Linked DNA regions of Homo sapiens: all the other regions are linked to region 5. Evidence: promoter capture Hi-C in 16 types of primary human blood cells and fetal thymus (Javierre and others, 2016). All regions are on one chromosome and are shown on one strand. Each heading gives the region's core, a stretch centred on a gene start or on the middle of the fragment in contact. The rest is flanking DNA. Distances are from core to core; before and after follow the strand shown.

Region 1 (2,700 bases), core at 105-2,604, 480 kb before region 5:
GCATCTGGAAATAGGAATGAGATCTGTCTATGCTGTGAATGCCAGCACAAATCACTTCTAAATGCCTTATACCAAAGACTAGCCATTAATAACATTTACCAAATGTCAAGCAATTGTGCCAGCTGCTCTACTTGCATTTTTTCACTTAATCCTTACGACACTTTGAAGTAGAGAGATGTTTCTATTATCCTAATTTTATAGTTAAAGAAAATGAGATTCGGAGCTCACTTGCTGAAAATCACCCATCTCGTAAGTATTGGAGCCAACATTCAAAATCAAGTCTGCCTGTCTTTAGAGCCAGTATTCATATGACCACAGTGCCATACACTACACCTTCTTAATTTAAGAAATAAATACAAAACCACAGAATTAAAATACATGCTTTCCAGGTTAAGATGGTAGATGAAGCACGTATACCTACCTCCACTCCCTCCCAAAAATCCCATTAAATGACGGTAAAGGTTTTTGTTTTAAGATATAAACCTAAAAGGATGGAAGAAAAGAGGAAACAGGAATAAAACGTTAGAAGCTGGAAAATAGGTAGATCAACAGTAAATAATGTAGTAGACTCTGAAAAACTGAATTCTGAGCCAGCGGTAGAAAAAGAAAAAAACCCACAAGAACCCCCAAACAACAACAAAAACTCACAACCTAATTTATATCATGGAATCCCTAAAAGGCTCAGAAACTAGTGGCTTCAGGTGCCTCTAGCAATAAGGGGTAGAAGGGTAGACATTAAAATAAGAATTGGTGCAAGGTTTAAGTAATCAGATGCTCTCTGCAACTCTATGCAGCAAAACAGCCTCCATTACACAGTACCCTCTCAAAATGATAGTTTTTTTTTTTAGGCCAGGTGCAGTGGCTCACACCTGTAATCTCAGCACTTTGGGAAGCTGAGATGGGCGGATCACCTGAGGCCAGCAGTTCGAGACCAGCCTGGCCAACATGATGAAACATCATCTCTACTAAAACTACAAAAATTAGACAGGCATGGTGGTGTGCGCCTGTAATCCCAGCTACTCAGGTGGCTAAGGCACAAGAACCGTTTGAGTCAGGGAGGCAGAGGTTGCAGCGAGCCAAGATCGTCCACTGCACTCCAGCCTGGAGCAAAACTCTGTCTCCAAAAAATAAAAAGTTTATTTTCTGAAAAGGGTAAAATAGAAGGTCTCTAGATTATGGGATGCCAGGCAGTTTGGGCAGAGGTACTATACTCAAAACAGAGACGCAGTGAGCAAATACATACTGGATATTGAAACACACACACACACACCTGTCTGTCCTGAGCCTCACCACAGCCCTATTCCTTTGAATCCCAGAACGTTGGCAGGGCCTCATTCAGCACTTGGGAGATTGGAAGAGTCTTTGTTCTCTGAGCAATGACCAGCTCAATGGGAAATAACTAAAGATACAGACGCAAAAAGTTTTCTCAACAAAAATGGCCCAATAGATGGCCCTTTGGCAAAGTTCAACATCAACAAGCTCCACTCCAGGCCTTTAATCCATGTTAGTTCCCAATTTTTAAGTGTGAGCAGACAACCAAGGAAAGCATCTAACATGAAACAAAAAAAGAGAAAAGCAATTACAGATAAAATAGAATATAAAGGAAAAAGAAAACATTAAAAGTACTATTGTTCTAAAAAGAGAGCAGAAGGAAAAAGAAGGGGAGGAAATCAATAAAAACCTATAAGCATTCATTGGTGGATGCTACAAATTAATACGACTGAACTCATGGAGACAGAGTAGAATGATGGTTACCAGAGGCTAGGAAAGGTTAGGGAAGGAATGCAGGGATGGCTAATGGGTACAAAAATATAGTTAGATGTAATGAATAAGTTCTAGTATTTGATAGCATAATGGGTGATTACAGTCAATAATAATTTACTGTACATCTAAAAATAACTAAAAGTATAACTGGAATGTTTGTAACATAAATAAATTATAAATGAGGTGACAGATAATCCCGTTATCCTGATGTGATTATTAGGTACTGTATGCCTGTATCAAAATATCTCATGCACCCCATAAATATATACACTTACATACCCATAAAAAATAATAAAATTATTTTAAAACCTACAAAATTTGAGAAATAAAGATACAAGTTTCAAGTTTAAATAGGTTCACCAAGTGCCCACCACAGTGTATTAAAATAAACACACACTAAATGATGTCATCATGGAATATAAGCATACTAGGAACAAAGATCCTTGTTTCTCAGGAAGAAATACTTAGTCCCACAAAAAAATCAGGAATCAGAATGATTTCAGATTTCTCAGCAGCAACACTGAAAGCTAGAGGCTTTGCTTTAAAATTCTGAAGGAAAATGATTGCTAATCTAGAACCCTATATTCATCAAACTATAGAATAAAGACATTTTTAAGGCCAGGCACAGTGGCTCATGCCTATAATCCCAGCACTTTGGGAGGCTGAGGTGGGCAGATTACCTGAGGTCAGGAGTTCGAGACCAGCCTGGCCAACATGGCAAAACCCTGTCTCTACTAAAAATACAAAAATTAGCCAGGCGTGGTGGCACGTGCCTGTAATCCCAGCTACTTGGGAGGCTAAGGCAGGAAAATCGCTTGAACTGGGAGGTGGAGGTTGCAGTGAGCCAAGATCATGCCACTGCACTCTAGCCTAGTTGACAGAGCAAGACTCCGTGTTAAAAAAAAAAAAAAAAAAAAAAAAAAAGACATTTTTAGA
Region 2 (2,700 bases), core at 138-2,637, 300 kb after region 5:
CCGAGAATTTCCATGTACCCCTTATCCAGTTTCCTCCATTGTTAACATTGTACATTATCATGCTATACACATCAAAACAAAGACATTTGATATTGGTACATTACTAATAAGTAAAGTCTAGACTTTACTTAGATTTCACCAGTCTTCCCATTAATGTCCTCTTTTTGCACTGGTATCCCATCCAGCATATATTGTATTTAGTTGTCATGAGTCTCCATGGTCCCCTCTGGTCTGGGATAGTTTCTCAGTCTTTCCTTGTTTTCCATGACTTTGACAGTTCTAAGGAGGACTGACTGGGGATCTTGTAGAATGTCCCCAATCTGGGTTTGTTTAACGTTCTTCTCATGCTTAGACAGGTTAAGGTTTATGGAAAACACTCAACAGAGATGAAGTGCCCTCTGGCTACATCATACCAATGGATACATGATAGCCACATGACATCACTGGGGAGGCTCACCTGGATCACTTGGGTAAAGTGGAGTCTGCCAGGTTTCTCCATGGTGAAGCTGCTATTTCCTTTTCTACATTCTATTCTTTGGAAGCAAATCTCTGCTTCCTTTTTGATCTAGAATCCTATCTCATGTGTCCCAGAACCTATCGCCATATTATCATTGTTCTTTTTAAAAAAATCAATAAATTATGATCACTTTAAAATATATTTAACATCAAACTTTAAAAAGAAATTTGCCTGTCAGACCCAATGATCTGATAATTACTATAAACACACTATTTACTATAAAATTACATGCTAATTACTATAAACATGTAATCATCAGATTACAAAATAATCCCAATTTAGGAACAGGTAGGATGAAAGTGTTAATGACACCAATTAGTGCTGCTTGTCCCATCCCCAAACCTGGCTGCATCTGGCCCCTTGTGACAAATGACATAGGCATTCCCAGGCCCCTGTTCTGTACTAGACCTTGTCCTGAGCTCTGTGACCTGGACTCTGGAGTTGACCTGCTTCAACCCCTTTCTTGTATAAGAGGGGAAATTAAAGACAAGAGAGGGAAAGGGCTTGCCTGAGGTCACACAGCCTGTGAGTAGCAGAATCAGGACTCAATCCTGAGTCTCTCATTTCCCCAGCATTCCAAGTAATGCCGGTGATAACCTGGGATCCTCCATGAAATCCCTATTCAGCCAAGAAGGATTCTCTGCTTTTCTGCATGGCTTTTAATTCCAGTTCCAGTATCTGAGTCCCTTCTGCACAATCAAGCTGGGGTCTTGCAGGGAAGGTCCAGGGGAGAATAACTACTCCTCAGCACAGCCCTCAAGGAGCTTCTGGTGAGTAGAGTGACAATTCGATCAAGGGCTTAGTACAGGGTCCAGCACGGAATAGATATAAGTCATTGTTGGATGACTGGATTGGCCGGAACAAAGTCACTCTCCCTTCCACCTGGTTAATGCCCATTACACACCTTAATGATAGTATATGCCCACCCCTGAGAGCACTGACCACTTTACACCAGCTTGTGCTTCCTTTGAGTAATGGCCCTTTCCCAGCCAACACACCCAGATCCTGGAGAGCAGGGGCCATGTCAGTCTTGCCCAGCAGCTGGATCCCAGCATTTATCACAGAGCCTGGGAGATGGCAGGCACCTAGTAGATATTTGATGGCTGAATGAGTGAATGAATGAATGCCATTCCAGGCAGAGAGAGGGCCAGGCTGTCACATACATGCAGTCAGGCCTCCCACTGCCCAGATGCAGCTCCCCACATTTCTCACCAGCTGCCAGGCCATCCCATCAGACTCAGGTTTTCAAATAGAAGCGAGGAGTTGAGTGTATGAAGCTAAACAAAGCAGTGGGCTGAGCCAAACTTGCCTCGAGGCAAGCTGCTTCCTGCTGCCACCCCGGCTGGCACCCCATAGTCTGGAGCCAGGCCTGTCCCACAGCCAACCCTCAGCTTCCAAAATCTGCACCCAGCCAGAGAATGTAGGGTGAGGGGCTTCTGGGAGGGAGGTCACCTGCCACACTCCCATCCTGGATGGCAGGGTCAGACCACCCTACTCATGGCCCATACACCCAGATCCGGAGGTAGAGGTGGGAGGAAGCCTACATCCTGTGGTGGGATACAAGGAAAGAAGGAAGGAGACTCCACACCTCCTTGCACCCATCAGGAGCACAGCTCGGTGCTGGGCACTGCATGTGTGTTATCTTGTTCAAAAGTCATTACAAGTCACAGAGGCAGGGGTTGTTATTCTCTTTTACAGATGTGGAAACTGAGACTCAGAGAGGGCAAGAACTTGCCAAGGCCACAATTCTGGTCAGTGACAGAACTGATTTGAGCTCAGCTCTGTCTGATTCCAGAGCCTGAGGTTTGGTCTCAAGCTGTGGAGGTTTCTGTTCCCACACTCACCTGTCTTCCTCATTAGTTCCCATCTCTTCTTCAGTCCACATAAGATGCCACCAGGATACTGCCCTGGTGTTTTTGTTTGTGTGTGTTTGTTTTTTATTTTAAGGCTAAGATAAGGAAGGAGGGGAGTGGTAGGGAGGTCAGCCATTCACTCCCTGGTGTGAATCATTCTAATCCATTGCTTTCCTTCTGGCCTCCAGCTGAGTCTCACCTGCCTGGAGCAGGTAGAAATGTTGGGGAAAGTGTGGCTGCCTGGGAGTCAAGGTCGCTTTGAAGGATCCACTGAGTCAGTGTACAGATGAGGAAACTGAGCTCAAGAGCAGGAAGGGAAATGCCCAGAAG
Region 3 (2,700 bases), core at 46-2,545, 260 kb after region 5:
GGGCAGTGAGTCAAGCTGCAATAGCTGGGGCCGGGGACTGACCGCCTTGGTGAGCACCCCAAGGCGTGGAAGGGACTGCGTCCTCTGTTCTGGCTAGTGCCTAGCACTGGACACACATGCCCTTCCACTCCAGTCCTTTCTGTGTTCACCAGCACCAACAACCAGGGGTTGTAATCCAGGGTCAGGAGGGGTTTCAGCAGGTACCCAATTCCTGGTGACCTCCCTGCCCTCAGACACAAAGGCCTGGTGCCCACCCACCCAATGATACATTGTAATTGTCTCAGTGGTCTTGGGAAGAGGCTATTTGCACAAAGAATTTCCCTGCATTCCAAGAGTGATGAAGGTGACTCTGTGCCACTTCTCTTTTAAATTAGAGGAGAAAAAAGAAGTTTAATTTTGACAGTAATACCTGCTACACTAGATAAAAACCTCCCCTAGCTAAAGACTGGCATGTTTAGATTAAAAATGATCATTGACTACCAGGGAAAAGTAATGAAAAGAGACGCGCATCTAGACTGACTTTAGTGATTTTATTTTAATTTCAAGGATAAAGAAAAATGATTATAAATATCCAGATAAGGAAAAAAGAAAAGAAAAGGATTTCTATGAAGGGGTGAGTGGAGTTACGGGCATCAAAGTTTTCCCCCATGGCACTAAATGCTACAATGACACATCTGTGTCAGGAGTCTCCAACACAACCTCCAGGTTTGATGGCTTGCTAGGAGAACTCTCAGGGCCCAGCATGTAGTAGTACATCTATTACATAGCTGTGAGTACTACTGCTCACAGCATTACATAGCTGTGAGTACATTTATTACCGTGAAAAGATACAAATCAAAATCAACAAAAGGAAAAAAGGTGCATGGGGCGAAGTCAAGGGGAAACCAGACACAAGCTCCCAAGAGACCTCTCCCAGGGGAGTTGCACAGGGCACCCTTAATTCCAACAGCAAACGAATAATGGCAACATGCGTGAAATGCTGTCTACCAGGATGCTCACTAGAGATTCAGTGCCTGAAGTACTACTGGGGTCTGGTCGCTAAGGCACCCTCTGGCTGGCACACACGAAAATTTCAGAATCCCAGAAGAAAAACAGGTGTTCGGCATAAAGCATATTGTTTGTACAGCTTAAGCACAGTGAGCTGCTCCGATCCATTCGGAGAATGATGGAACCCTCCCGAAATCCAAGTTCCCAGACACCAGCCAAGGGCCAACCTTGACAGCAGGTTTTTCTGAGGATATAGCCTCAGGCCTGCTGTGTTAGCCCTTTCCAGCACAACAATGAAACAACATTTGCAGATTTTTAGTTTAAAAGAGTATGACCCAATAACCCTTTATAAAGTCAGCTGAATTATTTATTGTTCATAGGGGACAGCAATAGGGAGACATTCTCAGATATCCAGAGCCTCAGAAAGTGTAACTCTTCATAGCCTTGAAAAAAAAAAACAAATTACTGGAATATTCATTTTCCATTGTTGCTGTAACGAATCGCCACAAACTTAGTGGCTTAAAACAACACAGATGTATCACCTTCTAGTTCTATAGGTCAGAAGTCTGACATGGGTCTCTCACTAGGCTAAAGTCAAGGTGTCAGCAGGGCTGGTTACTTTCTGGAGGCTCGAGGGGAGAGTCTATTTCCTGGCCTTTACTAGCTTGTGAAGGCTGTCTGCTCCTTCACTCATGGCGCCTTCCTCCATCACCAACGGTGGCAATGGCAGGGCAAGTCCTTCTCATGCTGCCCCCTCTCTGACTTGCTTCTATAATTACGTCTCTTTCTGTGGTCACAGCCAGGAGCCTCTCTACTTTGATGTGATTTATGCAATTAGATTGAACCCACCTGGATAATCCAGGGTACTCTTACTATCTTAACATCCTTAACCTTAGTAACATCTGCAAAACCCCTTTTACCATGTAACATATTCTCAGGGTCCAAGGATTCAAATGTAGACATCTTTTGGGGGCTATCATTCTGTCTACTTCACTATATTAGTCTGTTCTCACACTGCTATAAAGAAATACCTGAGACTGGGTAATTTATAAAGAAAAGAGGTTTAATTGGCTCAGAGTTCTGCAGGCTGTACAGGAAGCATGGCTGGGGAGGCCTCAGGAAACTTACAATCATGGTGGAAAGCAAAGAGGAAGCAAGCATGTCTTACATGGCTGGGACAGAAGCAAGAGAGAGAAGGGTGGGGGAGCTACACGCTTTTAAACAACCAGATCTTGTGAGAACTAACTCACTATCAGGAGAACAATAAGGGGGGAAATCCACCCCCTTGATCCAATCGCCTCCCACCAGGCCCCTCCTCCAACATTGGAGATTACAATTCGACATGAGATTTGGGCAGGGACACAAATCCAAACCATATCACTCAGTAAGTATCCTAGATAATGAAGAAATGAGTCAAAATAAAGCTCACAGGAGTGGTGGGAGAGGATGGTACAGGCGTTCCCCAGATGGAAGAGGAGACAGAAGACTAGAACCAAATGTTCCAAGGAGTGTGTTTGAAGAATGTAAATCATTCCATGGTAGGAGAACAGGTGGTGGGGGCTGAGGTGCGGGAGGAGGGGAAAGCAGGTTTGCAGTCAGATAATGAAGGCCTTGAATACCAGGTACAGCATTTGTTCTGTGTGTGAAGGCCAGAGGCAGGATCAGATGTGCACAGTCCTGAAAAATAAGTATGTTGGCAGTGTGGACAAGCGA
Region 4 (2,700 bases), core at 74-2,573, 290 kb before region 5:
CATTTCTTCAAGGAGAGTCATTTTATTATGAATCATTGTGCAAAGAACATAAACTAAATTGTAAGCTCTTCTAGGGCAACACCCAAATATCCTAATTTTGAATTCTGTACTTCAAAGTGATTATAAAGGAATAAGACTTTTTATAAAACAAACGTATCATATAGCTCATATATGCAAAGGAGTTTTATCCTTTCAAATAAGTCCCTGTATCGCTTAAAACATTTTTGGAAGTTCTATCTAAAATTTTGTTTCATGTGAGGCAGGTGTCAGCACCGAAAAGGTACTAGGTCCACTTCACACTATTCCACCTGGTTAGACCATACTCATGATGGCCAGTCAGTTATGGGACCGTAAACAAAATGATACTGGACTAGCTTAGAACAAGTTCAACTTGTCCTGAATGATGAAGGGACTTGAAATTCAAAGAAGAGTTGACAGAACTGAGGCTACAATCTGGAGACTAGAGGATTCCTAGGGGCATGATCACTGCCTTCAAGTTTCTGAATGGCCATCTTTTGGAAGGGCCATCTTACTTGCATGGTTTGGCCTTGGGGGAATAGACCTAGGATGAATGAGTGGAAGTCTCAAAGAAAACAGAATTTTGCTCAAGATCAAGAAGAATTTCCTATCAGCTGGTACTATCAAAACTGGAGTGGGTTGTCCCAGGATGCATGAACTCCCTGTCACAAGAGCTGTCCATTGAGTGGCCACATGGCCTCTTGGAGAAGTCATAGAGAACAGACAATGAATGGGTGGTTAGAGTGATACAGTTAACACTATTGAGACCCCTTCCAAGCCTTGGCATGTTAATTATCCCAGTAATCTGAACCTTTCTCTTTAATCCTGAAGTCTTAGGTAGAAAATCTTTCCTGTGCTTCTTACAAGGCAGCAAATGTAATCTGACTGAGTCATGACTCAGTCTGAGGGACTTCATGACTAAGGAACATCTTATAAAGGGACATCAGTTTCTGTACTCTGACACTAAATGGCCTCAAGTTGATGGACTTCTTGTGACTCCTTTTTGCAGTTTTCAGAGCCCGCCCTTTTATATTTTTGAGACAGGGTCTCCTCTGTCACCCAGGCTGGAGTGCAGTGGTGCAGTCACAGCTCATTGCAGCCTTGATATATGTCCCAGGCTCAAGTGATCATCCAACTTCAGCCTCCAGAGTAGCTGGGACTACAGGCACACACCAGCACACCCTGTTAATTTTTTTTTTGTTATTTGTAGAGACAGGATCTCCCTATGTTGCTCAGGCTGGTCTTGAACTCCTGGGCTCAAGCAGTCCTCTGGCCTTGGCCTCAAAGTGTTGTGTGAGGCACTTCACCTGGCCCCTTTCTTTTAATTGGGCTCTCTCTTCTCACACCCTAATGCCACTTGTTGCAGTGGTGCACCTGTCTTGAATCTTGTCTACCTTTTCCTCTAATTTGATGCTGCCTTTTGGCAATGAGCTGGAAGTTCCAGATATCCAGAATTGGGTCTTACTGAGTTAGGGCTCAGAATGTGCTCTGATTGATTAGACTGCTTGGGCCTTTTGATGCCTACTGTGGCTGCAGATGTGCCTCTTTTGCTTATTTCCCTCTTGGTTCTAAGTGGCAGTGAGTGGAGGACTGTGGATGAGTGACCCCCCAAAAAGTAAGATATTGTCACATAAGCTCTTGAGACAGTTAACTCATTATCTGCAGTTTCTTCCATTCCACAATAGGCTACTTATTTTTAATGCTGTATTACATTGAGAATATACTCATGTATAATTTTTATAAGAAAAATATTTAACTATATATTTACAGAAGGTGACATTTCAAAAGGCCCGGGAATACTCTGTCAAGACCGCACGCTTGCCAATCCAGGAATACATGGTCAGAAACCAGAATGGGAAAAACTATCATTCAGAGATACTGGCCATCAATCAAGGTACTTCTTACACGGCCCCCATCCAGGGTGTGTGAGTTCTGGTGCTGCTGCTTTGCACTGTGTTTAAGTGGCCTTTGAGTCAGTCTCCTCTGTGACTAATGTGTGTGGACTTTATTGCATGTACGTCATGACATATATTCTGGCCACTAAGAGGCATTCTGTTTTCTTCGTCACCAACTATGTTAAAGATAGTTGAAATTGTCCCCTTGGCCAGGTGCAGTGGCTCACACCTGTAATCCTGTAATCCACTTTCAGAGGCCGAGGTGGGTGGATCACCTGAGGTTAGGAGTTCGAAACCAGCCTGGCCAACATGGTGAAACCCCATCTCTACTAAAATACAAAAATCAGTCAGGCGTGGTGGTGCACGCCTGTAATACCAATTATTCCAGAGGCTGAGGCATGAGAACCACTTGAACCTGGGAAGTGGAGGTTGCAGTGAGCCGAGATCACACCACTGCACTCCAGCCTGGGTGACAGTGATACTCTGTCTCAAAAACAAAAAAAAAAGCTGGGCACGGTGGCTCACACCTGTAATCCCAGCACTTTGGGAGGCTGAGGTGGGCAGATCACCTGAGGTCGGGAGGTCGAGACCAGCCTGACCAACATGGAGAAACACCGTCTCTACTAAAAATACAAAAATTAGCAGGGCATAGTGGCAGGCGCCTGTAATCCCAGCTAATCTGGAGGCTGAGGCAAGAGAATTGCTTGAATCTGGGAGGTGCAGGTTGCGGTGAGCTGAGATCGTGCCATTGCACTCCAGCCTGAGCAACAAGAGTGCAACTCCGCCT
Region 5 (2,700 bases), core at 151-2,650:
CGAAGCTGAAGTAGAGACTCAACACCAGAGCGGCGGGTGCCTCGGTTTCCCCGTGCGCACCGTGGCTCTGGAACCTCGGGAAGAGGCCAAGGGGCACCTTACCTTGTCCTTCTTGCCGGCCCCGCTCTCCTCCGCGGCTGAGGCGGCGCACTTGTTGAGCAGTTTCTTGCCTCCGCAGGCCGTCGGGCTCCAGGTGCGGCCGCCCGCGCAGGCGCCCCCCAGGGGGTCCCCGGCCCCACCGCCCGCGGCGCTCTCCACTTTGATGAGGCGGTGCTTGGGGGAGATGTAGCGCACCTCGGCCGGCGTGGCGGGCCGCCGCTCGCTGCTGCTGCGGTAGAGATGCGGAGAGCCGGAGGACGAGGACGAGGACGCGGCGGCCCCCGCGCCCGAGGAGGCGCAGCAACAGCCCGCGGCGCCCGACGCGGACGAGGCCGAGAAGGCGCGCTGGACCCCGCCTGGCTCCCCGCTGCCGCCGCAGTAGTCCAGGCGGCACATGGCGCGCAGTTTGCGCAGCGACGAGCCAGGCCCGTTGTAGGGGTCCTCGAAGTCTCGCTCCTTCTGCGCGCGGTAGGCGCGGATGAGGTCGCTGGTGCTGCCGCTGTCGTCGGGCAGCGAGCCCGAAGAGGCTGAGAAGCAGGAGGCGGTGGCCGGACCGCAGGACGCCGAGGCGGCGGAGGAGGCCTGCGGCACGGCCTGGGGGGGCTGCGAAGGCCGCTCGCCTCGGCGCCGCTGCTCGCGGTAGTCTGGCCGCGGCGGCTGCGGGGGGCTCTTGGTCTTGCTGTTGCCCAAGCTGAAGTACTTGTTTAGCCACTTGGCCATGGCGAGAGGCCGCCTAGGGCCGCGGCGCGGGAGCCCGGTCCGCCGCCGCGGCCATTCGGGGGGCAGCGCTGCGGCGCAGGTCCCTCGGCGCCCCGGCCCCGGCGGGGGGCGTCCGGGGCGCCCGCTCCCGACGCCAAGTTCAAGTTCTTGCCGCCGCCGCCTCCTGCCGGCAGCTCTCTGGCTCCGGCGGCTGCAACACCTCCCTCCGCCTAGCGCCGCCCAAGCTAGGAATCTCGCGCCCCTCGTGGGCGCGTCTCATGGGGTCCCGGCCCACGCCCGGGGGAGAGCGGAAGGTCCGAGCGCTCCACGCCGCGGACCCTTTGGCCGTACGCCCCTCGCCGTGGATCGCGCTCCTGCCCCGTCGGAGCCGCAGCCTCCGCCTTGGCCGGGATCCGCGGCTGCCGCGGGAACTTCTCGGCGTCCTCGGCTCCCTTCTTCCTTCCTGCGAGCGCTGGGGAGAGCTCGGCCCCGCAGCGGAGGAGAATGCGGCCGGGAGAGACAGCGAGCGACGGAGGAAGGCAGCCGGCGCCCGCCGGAGCCCGCGCGCCCGTGCCCGTCCCGGCGGCGCCTGTCGCTGCCACTGCCGCCGCCTCCCGAGCCGCCGCGTGTGTGACACTCAGGCCGCCAGAGCCCGCCCCGCGCCGCCGCCCCGCCCCCCCGGAGCCCGCTCGCGCGCCCCGCCCCCCGCCCGCTCCCGCAGACCCAGCACCGCCCATCCCCGCGAGCCTGGCCCCGGGCCGCGGCCCAAGCCCCGCCCCCCTCGCGCCCGGGGCCGGGGTGGGCGCACCTCTCCGCTCCTGCACACGCCACCTCCCGCGGCTGCCCTGGCGCCAGCACCAGGGTCTTGCCCCAGGGCGCTGGGGTCCCGCCGCGCAGCCGGCTCCACCTAGCTTGCAGCTCGCCGCCGCCTCGGGCGAGAGGTTGCCTGGCGGAGCCTGCTACGCGCAGAGGCCAAACCTTTCCGCAGTCCCCCGGGACCCCGCGCGTTGTTCACTCCAGGGATCCCCCTGTCGGGGTTGAGGAGGGAGAGTGGATTAACACGGAACCTGTCTAGTTTACAGCGTGGCCCGTGTGGAGGAAATGCAGTGCCTAGTGCCCTTAGGGACAGAGTGGCTGTCCCTCTTCCTTAAAGGGACAGACTCCGGTTCAGCCCCGTGCGCCAGGTCTTCGGAGGAATCTTTATGCTAATGAGTGTATTAGCAGTCCAGATGACGGATGTGGTCGGGATAGGCGGTGGGAGCCGGGCCCAGCACCAATCCGAGAGCAAGGCTAGGGGAGGTCGGAATGTTTGCTTACCTTTTCACCTCTGAGGAAGTCGAGGCTTTAGCCCTGTTCGCTGCCAGCCGGCGGGGAGCAAGTTGTGGGAACATTTAATGCCTTATGTTGTAGGAGCTGGCAAGGATCCATTTAATACAGGACCTCGGCCGGGTGCGGTGTCTCACGCCTGTAATCCCAGCACTTTGGGAGGCCGAGGCGGGTGGATCACGAGGTCAGGAGTTTAATACCAGCCTGGCCAAGATGGTGAAACCCCGTCTCTACTAAAAATACAAAAATTAGCCGGGTGTGGTGGCGGGTACCTGTAATCCCAGCAGCTACTCGGAAGGCTGAGGCAGAGAATTGCTTGAACCTGGGAGGCAGAGGTTGCAGTGAGCCGAGATCACACCACTTCACTCCAGCCTGGGCGACAGAGGGAGATTCCGTCTCAAAAAATAAATACAGGACCTCATTTTACAGATGGAGAAACTGAGGCCCAGAGGAAAGTCACACAGGTGGACTTGGATGCCAGTTCCTAAGTCGGGTGGCACCATAATTATGTCTTTTCCAAGAGTCTCTTCTTTGCGATTTCAGATCATCCTTTGATTATTAACCAAAATTGAGGAA
Region 6 (2,774 bases), core at 123-2,622, 350 kb after region 5:
TCCCCCTTGCTAGCATTGGGATTCTCTCCCCATCCTTCAAGGCTTCTCTCAGGAGCTATAGCCCAGTGCTAAATAGAGGGACAAGTGACAAACCTTGGGAAAAACAGGAAGGTGGACCCAGATTGAGAAACCCCCAAGATTCAAGGCTGGCGGGTGCACAGCACCTTACTGATCAGGTTGCTAGCGGCTAGCTGTGCAGCGCCCATCTGAAAATAGCGAGGCAGGCCAGGCATGGTGGCGCACGCCTGTAATCCCAGCACTTTGGGAGGCCGAGGCGGGCAGATCATGAGGTAGGAGATCAAGACCATCCTGACTAACACAGTGAAACCCCGTCTCTACTAAAAGTACAAAAAACAAAATTAGCCAGGCGTGGTGGTGGGCGCCTGTAGTCCCAGCTACTCTGGAGGCTGAGGCAGGAGAATGGCGTGAACCCAGGAGGTGGAGCTTGCAGTGAGCCAAGATCACACCACTGCACTCCAGCCTGGGTGACAGAGTGAGACTCTGTCTCAAAACAAAACAAAACAAAACAGCCAGGCAAACCTACACTGGAGCCCTTTCACAGCTGGGACCAGCCAGGTGGCTCCAGGGAATTTCCTTCCATGTGCCTCAGCTTTCCCTTCTATCAAATGGGAAGGAGACCTCCCCAGGACACTTGTAAAAATCATGTAAAAAGATGGGTGCAGCCCAGGGATGGTATCTCATGTCTGTAATTTCAGCACTTTGGGAGGCTGAGGTGGGAGGAGTGCTTGAGGCCAGGAGTTCAAGAACAGCCTGGGAAACACAGTAAGATCCTGTCTCTACAAAAAATTCTAAAAATCAGCTGGGCATGATGGTATGTGCCTATAGTCCCAGCTACTTGGGAGGCTGAGGCAGGAGGATTCCTTGAGCCCAGGATCACAGTGGGCTGTGATCAAGCCATTGTATTCCACCTGGGAGATACAGTGAGACCCTGTCTCAAAAAAAAAAAAAAAAAAAAAGGATGCAAAAGCAATTTCCAACAGTAAGAATTATTCATATGTGAGTCTTCCATACATGTGTGCGGATCAAAGGATCACTCTCATTATGTGGCAGTTTGGGGCATTTCAGGGCATAGGAGGAAAGGGCAGAATTTAAGCCTGAAAACTGCTTCCCCAGGCTCCTCAGAGGCATGTATAAGGGCCCTTCACACACTGTGAACAACATAATAAATACTTCCCGAGGCCTCATTCCATGAAATCTAGGTGCTTGGGTACCCAAGGAGTCAGGAGGGGTGATTTTATCATGAATATTGAAGCAGAACAGCCCTGCTCTGACTCACAGTCTGTTTTCCTTCAACCGGGATCCCCAGAGGCATTGTTAAAAAACGCTCCCGCTGTGTCTTGTGAATAAAAGATGGCTTTAGGGCAGCACAGAATGAGCTGCTGCCTGGGCTAGGAAACATCCCCTGTCCAAACCTTCATGCTTTATCTGGACACAAGGGCAGAGGCCACACTAGCACTTCAGGACAGAGAGTGACAGGCAAACAGTGCCCGGTTCTGTGGTGGATGACACAAAGGCTGGTGCGGAAGAAGGGCTGAACCCCGGGGAGGCCTGACGCCTGTCAGTAATGAGATCATGAAAACCAGTTCTGAGTTGCTTCCATGTGGCCCCACGAATATCTTTATTCCCTGGGTCTGTGCCTGGGGTGGGCCTCAGATCCCATAGATCAGAGTGAAGGGGCTGTCACATTTACTTGTCATTTGGTAATTTTCAGTGAATTAGGGGTATGGAGTTTCCATCTGCCATCTGGCCTCACTCTGGTAACCATGGTAACCACCATCTGCCTGACTTAATACTATTAAGTCCTGTGCCAAAAGAGCACTGGACAGGGTGTTGGGACCAGGGAGCTGGTCATCCTTTACTGGTCACCCTGGACAAGGGCTCTGACCTTGCTGTGTCTCAGTCTCTTTCTCTGTATAACAGCAGATTTGGTCTGAATGTCTTTAAGGTGCCTTTCTCTTAGGAAGAGAATGCCACTCTGGGGAGAAATTATCTGAGATCATCAGCAGCATTTATAGTCTGAGGACCTGGTCAGCATTTCTTCTGTCTCCTGCATGTGGAGTTAAAAGTGTTACCTGTCTGGAGACAAAGAGAATTGCCTGTGAATTAACGGCTGAGGAAAGCAGTTATAAAAACGAGTGATAGGAACTAGCAAAAGGAAAGAGACAGGACTGTTTAAGTGCCACAGGGCGGAAACCAACTGTTCCGAGTGAAAGGGACCTCAACAATGACTCCACTGGGGCTGATATGGCCAGAGAGGGGAAGGGACCCGTCCAGGGCCACTCAGGGAGCCAGCGGCAGCACAGATGCACCCCCAGCCAGCTCTGTCCTCCATGGGGAGCTTCAGCTAGGAACAGCCAATGGTGACTTTCCTGTGCTCAACTGGCCACACACTGGTTTTACATTTCCCAGGACTGGAGGCTTCCTGCCCCATCTCCAACAACCCATTGCGTCTCCTGGACTTGGGTACATCTACCTGAACTACTTGAGAGGAAAGACTACTAGATACTTCTTAAGGCTTGGAAAGGTCTCACCCCACCCCAGGCTTCTTTCTTGAAGCTAAGTCATTACACTGACTTAGGCACTAAAGTCTGGACTTGGTCTCTGGGCTCAGGCCAGAATTATTTCCCAGAAGCCTGAACTCCAGGCCGAAACCCAGGCTCCTTGGGACTCACTGGCCACCTTCTCACTCACCCTAAACTCAGCACTGCCCACTCCAGGCAAAGTACACAGCGGCACTTCAAAACCTAGTGGGT
Region 7 (2,700 bases), core at 83-2,582, 280 kb after region 5:
TCCAGGGTTCAGCACAGGGAGGGTATGCAAAGGGTCCTTTTTAATCTTGGACTTTGACCCCACTCCTGTCCTGTATCCTGTCAGTCTGTAAAATGCAGGAGTGGGCCTGTCAGCTGCCCTGAGAGCCCTCTCAGCTCTGCGGCTCTCTGCAATCAGTCCCACGCATGGTGCACACAGTGGGAACTTGCTGACTGCTCATAGCATGGGGTGGAGGCTGTCCTGAGAATTGTGCCAGAGGATGGTCTGAGGACAGTGGGCAAACCCCAAACACTGTCATGTCTAGAGGAAAGGAGACTGAGAAGAGCCCAAGTCAGCTCCCCTAGGCAACCAGGAAACAATTTGCAAGATGGAATTCAACAAGCAATGCCAACAAGATCATAATGACCATATTTATGGGAGAACGTGGAGGCCCGCGTGCGGGTTTTCATTATCATGTGTATAAATGTGATGGCTCTGTGCAGCCAGCCTCCCGCTCCAGGCGGCAGCTGTTGGCTGGTGCATGGTAATTTGATGTAAATTGTCCCCAAATATGGTAGTTCCCTCCTCTGCCAGGGGAGTTTGAAGTCACAAACCTGGAGATGTTGGCAGCAGATGTTTTCTTACTCCTCCGCAGGCTGCTGGTATTGTGGAAAAGGATAACAAACCCAGAGACAATGCTTACCTGCACCACCTCTGGTGTGCCTGCTGTGAGACCTGCAGCACACGCGCCACCCCTCTGAGCCTGTTTCCACATCTGTAACATAGGCACAATGTCCTGTCAGGGTTACTTTGAGGAGTAGAAGAGATATACCCAGAGCATCCAGTACAGTGCTTTTATTAATATTCTTCTTTGGGACCTCGGTGGTGCCAGTTGTAGGAGCTGGGCAGTCAGTGCCCAAGCTTGTCTTCTAGTCCTAAATGGTGGGCTCCCCCAGGCAGAAAACAGGAAGAGCAACATGATTAAAATAAAAGTGAAAGTTCTAGGGAGAAACCTTAGTCTAAGGACAGACTAAGGTTTAATTCAAGAGCTCACTGGAATTTGTAAGCAAAACATCAATACCCCAATATGTAAATGAGCAAAGGGTTCAAACAGACAATTCACACCGGAGAAAGACAAATAACAATCCAACACAAAGAAAAATGTCTTTCCCCCCTCTTTTGCTTTACTTTTCTTTAATCCTCGGTGCAAGATATCAAATTAAAACAACCTCGAGATGGCTTTATTCCCACAAAATAAAAAAATATGTATATTAAAATGAGTTTCTAGCTGAAGTGATACACTCCGCTGGGGAGGTAAAACTTATCCTGTAGCAGACATTTTGCAAGGCGATCTAATAATATGTACCAAAAGTCAAATCAAGATAAATGATCCAGGCATCTCACTAATGTGAATTTCTCCTGAGGAGATTATTCAACAGGAGGAAAACGCCAAATCAACAAAGATGCCGTGAAAACATTTGAAAAGCGAGGTATGCATGCGTCAGTGGAAGATGGGGAAGCCATCCATGAGGTTCCACACAGAATACCCTGAAGTGCTTAAAAGGGTAGTTGTGTTTTGAGGATTAGGCATAGCATGTGGAACAATGTTTACAATGTATTTTTAATTTAAAAAAGGAGCACAAAAGGCTATTTATAGCATGATGGAAACTATACACATGTGACTGTATGACGCAAATGGTGCCTCCTTGCAAAGGATGAGACATTGAGAGGGGTGCGCTGTCCAGCACAGAGGGAGACCCCCGGGAGGCATGAGATCTCTGTCTCTCAGTCCCAAAGGTCATCTCAGAGCAGCAGCAGCAGCAGCAGACAAGCTTTGAGAGGTCCCAGAAAGCAGGCCTAGCACATGAGATGGAACTCTTTTGGGGGGCAGGTGGCAGCTCAGCTCAGGGAAGAGCCTTCTTGTGGTCAGTGACATGGGCTGGCCCCTGAGGTAGTGAGCTTTCAGGGGCTGGAGGTGTGCAAGCAAAGGCTGGAGTAGAGCTGGGCAGCTGGAATGATGTCACCTAGGATGGTTAAATGATATTAATCACATGTCTACTCATACCAGCCCATCTAGCCAAATATCCCTGTATTAGGCCATTCTTGCATTGCTATAAAGAAATACATGAGACAGGGTATTTTATAAAGAAAAGAGGTTTCATTGGCTCACAGTTCTTCAGGCTTTACAGGATGCAGGATGCTGGCATCTGCTCAGCTTCAGGGAAGGCCTCAGGAAACTTACAATCATGGCAGAAGGCACAGGGGGAGCAGGCACGTCACACAGTGGGAGGAGAAGCCAGCAAGAGACAGGGTAGAGGTGCCACACGCTTTTAAATGAACAGATATCTCAGGAGAACTCACTCACTATCGCGAGAACAGCACCAAGGGGACGGTGCTAGGCCTGCTTTTTGGGCCCCTCAAAGCTTGTCTGCTGCTGCTGCTGCTGCTGCTGCTGCTGCTGCTGCTGCTGCTGCTCTGAGATGACCTTTGGGACTGAAGGACAGAAAAGCCATCACAAAAAATCCAACTTAATGACCCAATCACCTCCCACCAGGCTCACCTCCAACATTAGGTATGAAAATTCAACATGAGATTTGGTGGGGACACAGATCCAAACCATAGCAATCCCTAAAAGGGAAACAGAGTAAGCCCATTCATTCATGGAACACAGGGAAGAAAGAGGGAGAGGAAGAAGGAAGGGGAGGGAGGGAGGGAATGAGGGAGAGAGCAAAGGAGAAAAGA

Evidence for each region. The method cuts DNA at HindIII sites, captures the fragments that hold promoters and counts their contacts. A CHiCAGO score of 5 or more calls a contact.
Region 1: a fragment that was not itself captured here is called in contact with the fragment with the promoter of SHB in region 5 in 1 of 17 cell types (erythroblasts); the score reaches 5.5 in erythroblasts.
Region 2: a contact is called between a fragment that was not itself captured here and the fragment with the promoter of SHB in region 5, in 5 of 17 cell types (megakaryocytes, erythroblasts, fetal thymus and 2 more). The highest score is 8.3, in megakaryocytes.
Region 3: a contact is called between a fragment that was not itself captured here and the fragment with the promoter of SHB in region 5, in 2 of 17 cell types (megakaryocytes and M1 macrophages). The highest score is 5.4, in megakaryocytes.
Region 4: a fragment that was not itself captured here is called in contact with the fragment with the promoter of SHB in region 5 in 1 of 17 cell types (neutrophils); the score reaches 5.4 in neutrophils.
Region 6: a fragment that was not itself captured here is called in contact with the fragment with the promoter of SHB in region 5 in 1 of 17 cell types (megakaryocytes); the score reaches 5.6 in megakaryocytes.
Region 7: a contact is called between a fragment that was not itself captured here and the fragment with the promoter of SHB in region 5, in 4 of 17 cell types (megakaryocytes, endothelial precursors, M1 macrophages and 1 more). The highest score is 6.5, in megakaryocytes.

The regions. Positions count from the first base shown.
Region 1 is chr9:37,584,768-37,587,467 of GRCh38, forward strand. No RefSeq gene overlaps it. Among named protein-coding and RNA genes, the nearest start is that of TOMM5, 6.5 kb to the right of the region's middle. The HindIII fragment of the contact is 4,406 bases long and covers 1-2,700 here.
Region 2 is chr9:38,368,518-38,371,217 of GRCh38, forward strand. All of the region lies in intron 1 of LOC107987065 (a long non-coding RNA gene), which reads left to right. The region is part of intron 2 of LOC105376040 (a long non-coding RNA gene); the gene reads right to left. Among named protein-coding and RNA genes, the nearest start is that of ALDH1B1, 23 kb to the right of the region's middle. The HindIII fragment of the contact is 6,205 bases long and covers 1-2,700 here.
Region 3 is chr9:38,330,221-38,332,920 of GRCh38, forward strand. The region is part of intron 1 of LOC107987065 (a long non-coding RNA gene); the gene reads left to right. Among named protein-coding and RNA genes, the nearest start is that of ALDH1B1, 61 kb to the right of the region's middle. The HindIII fragment of the contact is 4,837 bases long and covers 1-2,700 here.
Region 4 is chr9:37,774,494-37,777,193 of GRCh38, forward strand. It overlaps TRMT10B (tRNA methyltransferase 10B), which reads left to right. Exons shown (of 9, transcript NM_144964.4): 8 at 1,789-1,912. Among named protein-coding and RNA genes, the nearest start is that of EXOSC3, 9.2 kb to the right of the region's middle. The HindIII fragment of the contact is 5,813 bases long and covers 1-2,700 here.
Region 5 is chr9:38,067,827-38,070,526 of GRCh38, forward strand. SHB (SH2 domain containing adaptor protein B) reads right to left here and starts at 1,401. Exons shown (of 6, transcript NM_003028.3): 1 at 103-1,401. The coding sequence starts at 819. RefSeq lists an enhancer at 1-641 and silencers at 532-581, 1,002-1,811. The HindIII fragment of the contact is 5,108 bases long and covers 1-2,700 here.
Region 6 is chr9:38,420,329-38,423,102 of GRCh38, forward strand. The region is part of intron 1 of IGFBPL1 (insulin like growth factor binding protein like 1); the gene reads right to left. Among named protein-coding and RNA genes, the nearest start is that of IGFBPL1, 2.7 kb to the right of the region's middle. The HindIII fragment of the contact is 3,072 bases long and covers 1-2,774 here.
Region 7 is chr9:38,352,482-38,355,181 of GRCh38, forward strand. The region is part of intron 1 of LOC107987065 (a long non-coding RNA gene); the gene reads left to right. LOC105376040 (a long non-coding RNA gene) reads right to left here. Exons shown (of 4, transcript XR_929605.1): 4 at 2,412-2,451. Among named protein-coding and RNA genes, the nearest start is that of ALDH1B1, 39 kb to the right of the region's middle. The HindIII fragment of the contact is 911 bases long and covers 878-1,788 here.